Regions from separate parts of the Homo sapiens genome. Here all the other regions are linked to region 2. Evidence: promoter capture Hi-C in 16 types of primary human blood cells and fetal thymus (Javierre and others, 2016). All regions are on one chromosome and are shown on one strand. The core of a region is centred on a gene start or on the middle of the fragment in contact, and the rest is flanking DNA. Distances in the headings are between cores, read along the strand shown. Region 1 overlaps YWHAG (tyrosine 3-monooxygenase/tryptophan 5-monooxygenase activation protein gamma). Region 2 holds the start of PTPN12 (protein tyrosine phosphatase non-receptor type 12). Region 3 has its middle 7.5 kb from the start of YWHAG.

Evidence for each region. The method cuts DNA at HindIII sites, captures the fragments that hold promoters and counts their contacts. A CHiCAGO score of 5 or more calls a contact.
Region 1: a fragment that was not itself captured here is called in contact with the fragment with the promoter of PTPN12 in region 2 in 1 of 17 cell types (M0 macrophages); the score reaches 5.1 in M0 macrophages.
Region 3: a fragment that was not itself captured here is called in contact with the fragment with the promoter of PTPN12 in region 2 in 1 of 17 cell types (neutrophils); the score reaches 6.0 in neutrophils.

What each region holds. Positions count from the first base shown.
Region 1 is chr7:76,323,258-76,326,812 of GRCh38, reverse strand. YWHAG (tyrosine 3-monooxygenase/tryptophan 5-monooxygenase activation protein gamma) reads left to right here. Exons shown (of 2, transcript NM_012479.4): 2 at 1-14. Among named protein-coding and RNA genes, the nearest start is that of FPASL, 6.8 kb to the right of the region's middle. The HindIII fragment of the contact is 707 bases long and covers 1,277-1,983 here.
Region 2 is chr7:77,535,678-77,538,847 of GRCh38, reverse strand. It overlaps PTPN12 (protein tyrosine phosphatase non-receptor type 12), which reads right to left and starts at 1,553. Exons shown (of 18, transcript NM_002835.4): 1 at 1,203-1,553. The coding sequence starts at 1,301. It overlaps LOC124901681 (a long non-coding RNA gene), which reads left to right and starts at 1,899. Exons shown (of 3, transcript XR_007060395.1): 1 at 1,899-2,477; 2 at 2,567-3,170. RefSeq lists silencers at 1,014-1,063, 1,204-1,413, 1,664-1,963 and enhancers at 2,034-2,253, 2,424-2,473. The HindIII fragment of the contact is 6,799 bases long and covers 1-3,170 here.
Region 3 is chr7:76,364,832-76,368,221 of GRCh38, reverse strand. No RefSeq gene overlaps it. Among named protein-coding and RNA genes, the nearest start is that of YWHAG, 7.5 kb to the right of the region's middle. RefSeq lists enhancers at 3,278-3,390, 3,053-3,390. The HindIII fragment of the contact is 7,431 bases long and covers 1-3,390 here.

The DNA.
Region 1 (3,555 bases), core at 381-2,880, 1.2 Mb after region 2:
ACTTACAGATCTGACGCCAGTGCTCCTTAGCTTCATTGTGTGAGTTTTACTGTCCTTTGCTTTTGAAGGTTGGATCAGATGTTGGTGTTCTCTTCCCTCCCCAGCCCAAGCAATGAAGTTGGATTGGCAGGAAAAAGGGGAAAGACAGTAGATACTGGAAAGCGCCTCCAACCAGGAATCAGATTTGGGTTTGGGGACTTAAAAAAACCATTGCACCAGGCCAGGCGCAGTGGTTCATGCCTGTAATCTCAGCACTTTGGGAGGCTGAGGCGGGCGGATTACCTGAGGTCAGGAGTTCAAGGCCAGCTTGGCCAACATGGTGAAACCCCATCTCTACTAAAAATACAAAAATTAGCAGGGCATGGTGCTGGGTGTCTGTAGGACCAGCTACTCGGGAGGCTGAGGCAGGAGAATCACTTGAGCCCAAGAGGTGGAGGTTGCAGTGAGCCAAGATTGCACCACTGCCTTCCAGCCTGGGCAACAGAGTGAGACTCCGTCTCCAAAAAAAAAAAAAAATTGCACCTTTTAGGGTGGGCGCAGTGGCTCACACCTGTAATCCCAGCACTTTGGGAGGCTGAGGCCGGAAGATCACTTGAGGCCAGGAGTTTGAGACCAGCCTGGGCAACATATTGAGACCCTATCTCTGTTGAAAAAACAAAACCAAACCATTGCACCTTTTGGGCCTCCATTTTTCTCATATTAAACGAGCCTGTTCAACTGGATCTCTGAGGGCCTTTCCGGGGTACCACTGGGGAGAAACACAGACCTGAGTTTGAGTGATGGCACGCCCCATCCTGCCCGTTTTAAACAACAAAACAAAACAAAAAACAGATGGGGTCTGGCCATGTTGCCTAGGCTGGGCTCGAACTCCTGGGCTCAAGTGATCCTCCCAGAATTATGGCCCCTTTTGATTCCTGGGCAAATTATTCAAACTTCTTAGCCTGGGTGGGTGTGGGTGTGGTTGTAGGTTTAAATGATAACTGGATCATAGCTTTTAATTATTTTTTTGTGACAGGCTGGAGTGCAGTGGCACGATCTCAGCTCACTGTAACCTCCACCTCCCAGGTTCCAAGCTATTCTCATGTCTCAGTCTTCTGAGTAGCTGGGATTACAGGATCCCACCACCATGCCCAGCTAATTTTTATATTTTTAATAGAGACCGGGTTTCGCCGTGTTGGCCAGGCTGGTCTCAAACTCCTGACCTCAAGTGATCCGCCTGCCTCGGCCTCCCAAAGTGCTGGGATTACAGGTGTGAGCCACCGCGCCCGGCCAAGCTTCTTAATTTTCTGAGAAACATTAATTCACATTTCAGGAATGATAACACACTGTGAATAGGCTTTTGGCATATACTCAGTGAATTCACTTACGTTGACTCATTTGTCACCCAGAACTACCCTGGGTGCCACTGCAAGTGTATGGCTGTAGAATTAGGAGTGACTGCTATACCTAAGGTGCTGTAACTCACTGATAACCCGCATCTGCCTGCCTGAGTTTGGTCTGCCCACACCAGGCTGCTTTTGCACTGCTAGGAGACCATAAGAAACTAGGCCGAGCGGCAGCAACCAACTCTTCAGCACACATTGACCAAGCACTTTTATTTTATTTATTTTGAGACGGAGTTTTGCTCTTGTTGCCCAGGGTGGAGTGCGGTGGCGCCATCTTGGCTCACCCCAACCTCCGCCTCCCGGGTTCAAGCGATTTCCTGCCTTAGCCACCCGAGTAGCTGGGATTACAGGCACGCGCCATCACTCCCAGCTAATTTTGTATTTTTAGTAGAGACGGGGTTTCTCCATGTTGGCCAGGTTGGTCTCGAACTCCTGACCTCAGGTGATCCGCCCACCTTGGCCTCCCAAAGTGCCGGGATTACAGGCCAAGCCACCGCACTTAACTGACCAAGCACTTTTAGTATTGCAGTTACTGAGGGCAAAAAAAAAAAAAAAACACTTTTGGCACAGATATGAACAAGATCAGAACAGTCAAGCTTGCTCTAACAGGGTCACTGAAGAAGGAAGGTAGATCCCCTGAAAGTTGCCGCTATTTCACCCTTGTTCCTTTGGCGTAATGTCCCGTTACAGGTGCAAGAGTAGCTTTGTTTTACTGTTTTGCAGATCTCTTGGGAGCTAAGTCACACGTACTCTCTGCTTAGGCGTCCAGTCTGTTGTGATATGTGTTTTCTTAAGACAGGGTCTCGCTCTGTCTCACAGGCTAGAGTGCAGCAGTGCGATCATAGCTCACTGCAGCCTCAAACTCCTGGGCTCACGTGTTCCCGCCTCAGCCTCCCAGGTAGCTGGGAGTGCTACCATACCGGGCCATTTTACTTAATTATTTTTGAGATGGAGTCTCGCTCTGTTGCCCAGGCTGGAGTGCAGTGGCTTGATCTCGGCTCACTGCAACCTCCACCTCCCAGGTGCAAGTGATTCTCCTGTCTCAGCCTCCTGAATAGCTGGGATTACAGGTGCATGCCACCATGCCTGGCTAATTTTTTTGTATTTTAGTAGAGACGGGGTTTCTCCGTGTTGCCCAGGCTGGTCTTGAACTCCAGAACTCAGGCAATCCACCTGCCTCGGCCTCCCAAAGTGCTGGGATTACAGGCGTGAGCCACTGCGTCCAGCTGGGCCATTTTATTTTTTAGAGACAGGGTCTTACTATGTTGTCCAGGCTGATCTCAAACTCCTGGCCTCAAGTGATCTGCCTCAGCCTCCCAGAGCACTAGGAGTACAGATATGAGCCACTGCACCTGGCCTATTGTGATATGTTGTTTCACTTGAAGTATTTGAAAAAAATACAGTATCACACAAATAAGTAGTTGGAAAGGGGTGAACCTAAAGAATTGAAGTTGAATGGCAGAAGCAGAATAAGGTTAAGAAAGTTCTCATTAGGTGGGTGCGGTGGCTCACGCCTGTCAACTTTGGGAGGCTGAGCTGGGTGGATTGCTTGAGCCCAGGAGTTCAAGACCAGCCTAGGCAACATAGTACATAGTGAGACCTCTGTCTCTACAAAAATTAAGTGGGCATGGTGGTGTGCACCTGTAGTTTCAGCTACTCAGGAGGCTGAGGTGGAAGGATTGCTTGAGCCCAAGAGGTTGAGGCTGTAGTGAGCTATGATCACGCCACTGAATTCCAGCCTGGGAGACAGAGCAAGACCTTGTCTCAAATACAATAAACAAAAAAGACCTCATACTACATGAATTAAATCAGTCTGTAGATCAGGCACCAGTGGTAAAGGTCTTTTTTGCCTCTTTTTTAGTGCATTCTAGAATTTTAAAAATAACCGATACTAGGCCAGGTGTGGTGGTTCATACCTGTAATCCCAGCATTTTGGGACACCGAGGCAGGCGGATCACCTGAGGCCAGTAGTTCAAGATCAGCCTGGCTAACATGGTGAAACCCTGTCTCTACTAAAAATGCAAAAATTAGCCGGGCATGATAGCACGCGCCTTTTATCCCAGCTACTTGGGAGGCTGAGGCAGGAGAATCGCTTGAACCAGAAGATAGATTGTAGTGAACCAAGATCCTGCCACTGCACTCCAGCCTGGGCAACAGAGCAAGACTCCAT
Region 2 (3,170 bases), core at 304-2,803:
ACAGGGTTTCCAACGCCCCAGTCTTGCGCAATATCCGTAGGAGCAGCAGCCGCAACCACCGCCTCCTAAGCCGGGAAACAACCCTAGAGGGAACATTGTCCAGCAGAAAAATAAAAAGGGCGGGGGTTGGGGGGGTGGGTAACGTAGGAAGTCGACTTCTGGTCTCACGCCTTCGGATCTGACCCCCTCACAGTGTGCTAAAGCAATAGTGTATCTAGAGCAATTTCATGAACAAGACTTTTAACCTTCACCTCCTCTCAAGACTGCCTGCACAAGCAGAGGGCGGAAAGTAGGGGGTGGCGGAGGCGGGGGGGCGCTGGGAAGGTTATCTCCCAGTTCAGGGCTTCGGCCCGTAGCGTCGCCTCCGCCCCACCAGGACTATTGTTCCCAAGTTCCCCACCCCCACCCCGGATAGGAAGTGATAGTCACATCCCCTCCGCCTTCGGCAATATCCCCTGGGGAGTCCGAAGTCGGCTGGCTTCCTTCAGGATAATTCCCCCACCCACACTTATCCCCTGAACCTATAGTCACACGGACCCCAAGACCACCTCAAACCTGGGCCTCAGGAGAGGAGAAGCGGGACGCGGGTAAATGGAAATTAGGTAAACCCATGAGATTCCTTATGGGCAATCCTTTCCCAAGCGTTGGAGATCATGACTGCGACCCCAGAAACGGCCTAAGTCCTACCCTGCCCGCTTTGAGACCAGCTAGAGCAAAGGGATCCCAGGAGTTAGTGCCAACCTCAATACCCCCGTTCCTCTGTCAGCCACGATCTGCACTCCTCCCGGTCACAGCCAGATACCTTGCCTCGACCCTCCTGGGAGGAGCGAACTGCGCGGGGAGGTGTGGAAACGCGAGCCCCCCCCCCCGGCCTGCACCTCACTTGCCTACGGCTCCCGGCCCGGTAAACAATAGGTGGTCGCGAGCCACGGTGCAGGCTGCGGGCTCGGCCGCGCGGCCGCTCCCTTCGCGTCCCGGGAACCCGCGCGGGGGTCGCGAACATGGGAGAAGAAAGGAGGCCACGGGGGGAGGCGCTCTCGCCTCCCGCTGGCCTCCGAGACCACCCGGCTCACCCGGCTGGTGCGCGCCCCCTCCGCCCCTCTCCTCACAGAGGTACACAAAGCACTGGCGGCCCGGCCGGGAGAGGCGGCGATGGGCTCCGGCGCCGGCAAGAAAACGCGACAGCGAGGGGAGAGACTCACCATGAAGTCCCGGGCGAAGTTGTCCTCCCCATTGTGGTCAGGACTCTTCATGGCCTGGACCCTCTGGATGAATTTCCTCAGGATCTCCACTTGCTCCATCCTCCCGCGTCCCCCCGGCTGCGGTCGCTGGCCCCCCCGCCGCCCGCCCGCCCGGCACAGAGCCCGCTCCGTCTTCCCCAGCTCGTTCCCCCAGCACGTCCCTCCCTCCCGACCCCGCCAAGCCCCGCGGCTCCCTCCTCCTCCCCACCGCCCTAGGCGGCGGCTGCGGCGGCACCGGCTGGGCTCCCGACACCACAACTTCCAGGAGCAGCCGCCGCTCTCCCACAGTACCAGGCGAGCCGCTGCGCTAGCGCCAACCCCAACCCCCAGCTTGCTCCATCCTCCTTCCCCGCCCTCCTCCTCCGTCGGAGACGCCGCCGCCGCCGCCGCCGCCGCCGCCGCCTCAGGAACACAGCTAGCTCTCCGCTCGCCCTGCCCCCCCTTCCCGGTTCCTCCTCCCCCCCACCCCCCGCCAGCAGCCGCAGCCGCAGCCGCAGCCGCCTCTCCCCACGGGCGCGTCCCCGCCGCCACCCAGATGCGCGGCCTCGCGCTGCGGCTCCGCCCCAAGCGCTGCGCCCGCAGATGCATCCCCGCCCGCCTCCCGGCCACGCCCCCAAGCCCGCCCCGCCGGCCCCAGCCCCGCTTGGAGTGGCTGGAAGGCACTTCAGCGGGCGGCCTGGAGACCTGACTCCATTTCCGGGGCGTGGCCCCGCCCGGGGTGCTCAGAGGTCGGAGTATCGCTGGGAGGAGAGTTGGTTCATTTGGAGGAGGGAATGCGACTCTGAGCGGGCCAAGCCCTAGTGGGTCAGAGTAGGATTCTGATGGAATTTGCGGTCTCACCGCCTACTAGGGAGGAAAAGCAGTTTTCAGGAGTCCCGCACCGCCGCCAGCCGTGGGCTGGGACTACAAGTCACGGTCTGTGGAGTCCAGGAGTGGGGGCGGGCGGGAGGCAGGCTGGGAGCTGTAGTAGTGTCACCGCCACGTTCGCAGCAGGTAGATGCTCATCTTGCTAACGGATTGGTGAGAGTGGACAGCAATTAGGCTTTGGCACCTTGGAGCGTGGCTCCAGCTAAGGGAAGCGAAACGCTTCCTGGGTGAGAGGACTTTTATTCTTTGCTCATCCTCTTAAACCTGGCGAGTGAGCGCCTGAGGTTCGGAGTGCCTTCTTCACAGACGACGCGAATGTGGGGTCTTCGTGTTTGCCGAACTGAAGGGAATTTGCCTTCCTGCCTTTAGGTTCGCAGCAGTTCATAACTGAATAAGAGACTTTCCTCCATAGAATGGACTTTATAAATCTATTAATTTTTTTTTTTTTTTTTTTTTAGAGCTAAGGTCTTGCTCTATCTCCCATGCCAAAGTGCAGTGCTATGATCACGGCTCGCTGCAGCCTTGAACTCCTGGGCTCAAGGCATCCTCCTGCCTCACTACGTCACCAAGCCCAGCTAATACATTTTAAAAATTTATTATTTATTTATTTATTTATTTTTGGTAGAGAAGGGGGTCTCACCAGGTTGCCCAGGCTGATCTCGAATTCCTGTGCACTAGGGATCCTCAGCTTCCGAAAGTGTTGGGATTTTAGGCGTGAGCCACCGCGCCTAGCCTATAAATCTTTATTCATCTTTGTAAACTTCTATCAGAGAATATATTCTGGTCTAACTCATCATTTTACAAATAAAGCGACTTCCTGACATCCCCCAGCGTATTCTTAGCAGAGCCGTAACTAGAAGTTATTTTACTTTCACAACAGTGGCCTCTCACAATGTGACAGAACTGAAGGATTTGATCCATGAACTGACTTTCGTCATTTATACCCACAAACCTTTTTTTACAGAGCAGATTGGTCAGCGAATTTGGTTATAATAGGAAATATCAGTGGTAGAATACTTTCTCAGATGAAAGTTAGGAGCACTATGGAATTTAGTGAAAAAC
Region 3 (3,390 bases), core at 389-2,888, 1.2 Mb after region 2:
AAGAATACTGCTGTTCATTTCACAGTTCGATTCAAAGGGCATGGTACAGATTTCTCTTTAAGATTCAGTTGGGGAACCCAAGCTCTAGATGGGTAAAGTACTTGGCCTAAGTTCACACAGCTGGGTTTCGGGAGAAGACTGCAGCCCAGGCTCTTCTCCCTCTTGAACATACTTGTCTCTTTGAGACAGTGGCCCATTTTTTTCATGGTGACACACATTCCCTTGGTGGGATAATTTTATTTTATTGTTTAAAGGAGTCTTGCTCTGTCACCCAGGCTGGAGTACAGTGGCGTGATTTCAGCTCACTGCAACCTTTGCCTCCCAGGTTCCAGCAATTCTCCAACCTCAGCCTCCCCAAGTAGCTGGGATTACAGACGTGTACCACCACGTCTGGCTAATTTTTGTATTTTTAGTAGAGACAGGGTTTCATCATGTTGGCCAGAATGGTCTTGAATGCCTGACTTCAAGTTATCCACCCGCCTTGGCCTCCCAAAGTGCTGGGATTATAGGCATGAGGCACTGCACCTGGTCTCCTTTTAAAAAATTGTTTTTGTTTTGTTTTGTTTTGTTTTTTAAAAATTTTTTGAGATAGCGTCTCACTGTGTTGCCCAGGCTGGAGTGCAGTGGCGCCATCATAGCTCACTGCAGCCTCCAACTCCTGGGGTCATGTGATCCTCCCACCTCAGCCTCCCAAAGTGCTGGGGTTATGGGGTTGCAGGTGTGAGCCACAGTGCCTTCCCTGATTCCCTTCTTAAAGCAGAGAGTCTCCTTCATTGAACACAACTTCGCTGAGCACCTGCTCCATGCTAGGCTTGGAGATCAGAGATGGCTCAGACTGAGTCTATGTCTTTCAGGAATATGACCCCAGGGAAGACAGACTCATATACATCTGAGTGCTATATGGTGGTCTGGGCTCTTCTCTAGAGAACATGGCAGGAGAGCCCATGGGGACTGAGGAGAGAGTGGTTAGTTCAACTCAGTGTCTGAGTCTGAAGGATGAGGAGGTCTGGGTCTAATGGGGGTGGGCATAGAAGGAGCTTTCAGCACAAGGAACAGCTTTTGAAAAAGCCCAGACTGGGTCAGGCGCAGTGGTTCACACCTGTAATCCCAGAACTTTAGGAGGCCGAGGCGGGCAGATCACCTGAGGTCGGGAGTTCGAGACCAGCCTGACCAACATGGAGAAACCCCATCTCTAATAAAAATACAAAATTACCTGGGCGTGGTGGCACATGCCTGCAATCTCTTCTACTCAGGAGACTGAGGCAAGAGAATCGCTTGAACCTGGGAGGTGGAGGTTACGGTGAGCTGAGATTGTGCCATTGCACTCCAGCCTGGGCAACAAGAGCAAAACTCTGTCTCAAAAAAAAAGAAAGAAAAGAAAAAAAAAAAAGAAAAGAAAAAGCCCAGACTGCCCAGGTGTGGTGACTCATATGTATAATCCCAGCACTTTGGGAGGTAGAGGCAGGAGGATTGCTTGAGCCCAGGAATTTGGGACCAGCTTGGACAACTAAACATAGACCCTATCTCCACAAAAAAAAAAAAAAAAAATAGAAAATTTTTTTCTACTGGGCGTGGTGGTGTGAGCCTGTATTCCCAGCTGCTCTGAAGGCTAAGGCGGGAGGATCATCTGAACCTAGGAGGTCGAGGCTGCTAGTCCAGCCTGGGCGATAGAGCATGACCCTGTCTCAGAAGAAAAAAAAAAGATATTTTGGATTTTTCACTGGGGAGAATGGAAAGACACTGAGACAGGGCCATTAGCTGAAAAGCTGTTGCTATAAACTGGAAGATCTTAAGACGCATCCACCTGGTTCCTCTATTTTATAGATGCACAATCTGAGAACCAGAGAGGCAAAGTGATTTGCCCAAGGTCACTCAGGAAGATTAATGGCAAAGCCAGTGCTTCAACCTGTGGGTCCTGCCTCCTGGGCTCATGCCTCCTCCACTGGCCTGAGATCCTCAGAAGGAGAGGCAGGTTGCAGAGATTTCCTGTCATTCTTTGCCTCTGCTGCAGGACAGCCTGCTAAGGCAGTGACAGGGAAGTGTTCCCAGAGGACAGGGCGGGGAGCATTGCTGCTTGGCTTCAGAAGATGCTGCTGCTGCCTCTGCACTAATCAGGGAGCTTTCCAGCCACAGGAGGAAGCCAGAAGCCAGGGGATGGGGCTGCGGTGATTTATGACTGCACAGAAACAGCAGGACAATCATGTCCCTGGCTGTCCTGCATGTCTGCCAACCGAGCCGGACAGCATGCATTTAAAAGGTCATGTCCTCCAGTGCTGGAGAAGGGGCTGGAGGGTGCCCTTCGGTCAGGTTGGTCACTCCTTTCCTGAGCAGATGCCAAGGAGGGTAGATCCTGGACAGGAAACAATGCCTTTGCTGCTAAGAGTCTAGGAGGTCTGCCCGGGTTTGAATCCAGGCTCTGTTAGCTGAGACACGGAGAGGCTGTGTGATTTTTGGCTGATCACACAGCCTCTCTGTGTCTCTGCTTCCTTGTCTTAAAAAACAGGGGTGAAGCTGGGCGCGGTGGATCACACCTGTAATCCCAGCACTTTGGGAGGCCGAGGCAGGTGGATCACCTGAGGTCAGGAGTTCGAGATCAGCCCGGCCAACATGGTGAAACCCTGTCTCTACTAAAAATACAAAAATTAGCCGGGCGTGGTGGCACATGTCTGTAATCCCAGCTACTCAGGAGGCTGAGGCAGGAGATCACTTGAACTTGGGAGGCGGAGGTTGTAGTGAGCTGAGATCGCGCCACTGCACTCCAGCCTGGGCAACTGAGCAAGATTCTGTCTCAAAAAAAAAACCAAAAAACAAAAAAAAAACTGGCCGTGCACTGTGGCTCACGCCTGTAATCCCAGCTCTAACTCTTTGGGAGGCCGAGGCAGGCGGATCACCTGAGATCAGGAGTTCGAGACCAGCCTGACCAACATGGAGAAACCCCATCTCTACTAAAAATACAAAAATTAGCCGGGCATGGTGGCGCATGCCCATAATCCCAGCTACTCAGGAGGCTGAGGCAGGAGAATCGCTTGAACCTGGGAGGCAGAGATTGTGGTAAGCTGAGATCGTGCTGTTGCACTCTAGCCTGGGCAACAAGAGCGAAACTCCATCTCAAAAAAAAAAAGAAAAAAAAAGGAAGAGAAGAAAAAGAAAAAAAAAAAAGAAAAGAAGAAAAAAAAAAAAAGAATGCCAGTAGCTTCCATTTCAGAAGAACATGCTGAATCTAGAACTATGACTCATCACAGCTGGGTGGGGCACTTAGTGCTCCTTCAGTTTAATCTCACATTTTCAAGGTGGGGATATTAGACCCAGAGAAGGGACAGGTCTTGCCCGCAGAGCTAGGGGCCAGGCAGAAGCCAGAATGCTAGCTCTTAACGTCCTTGCTCCAGGTTT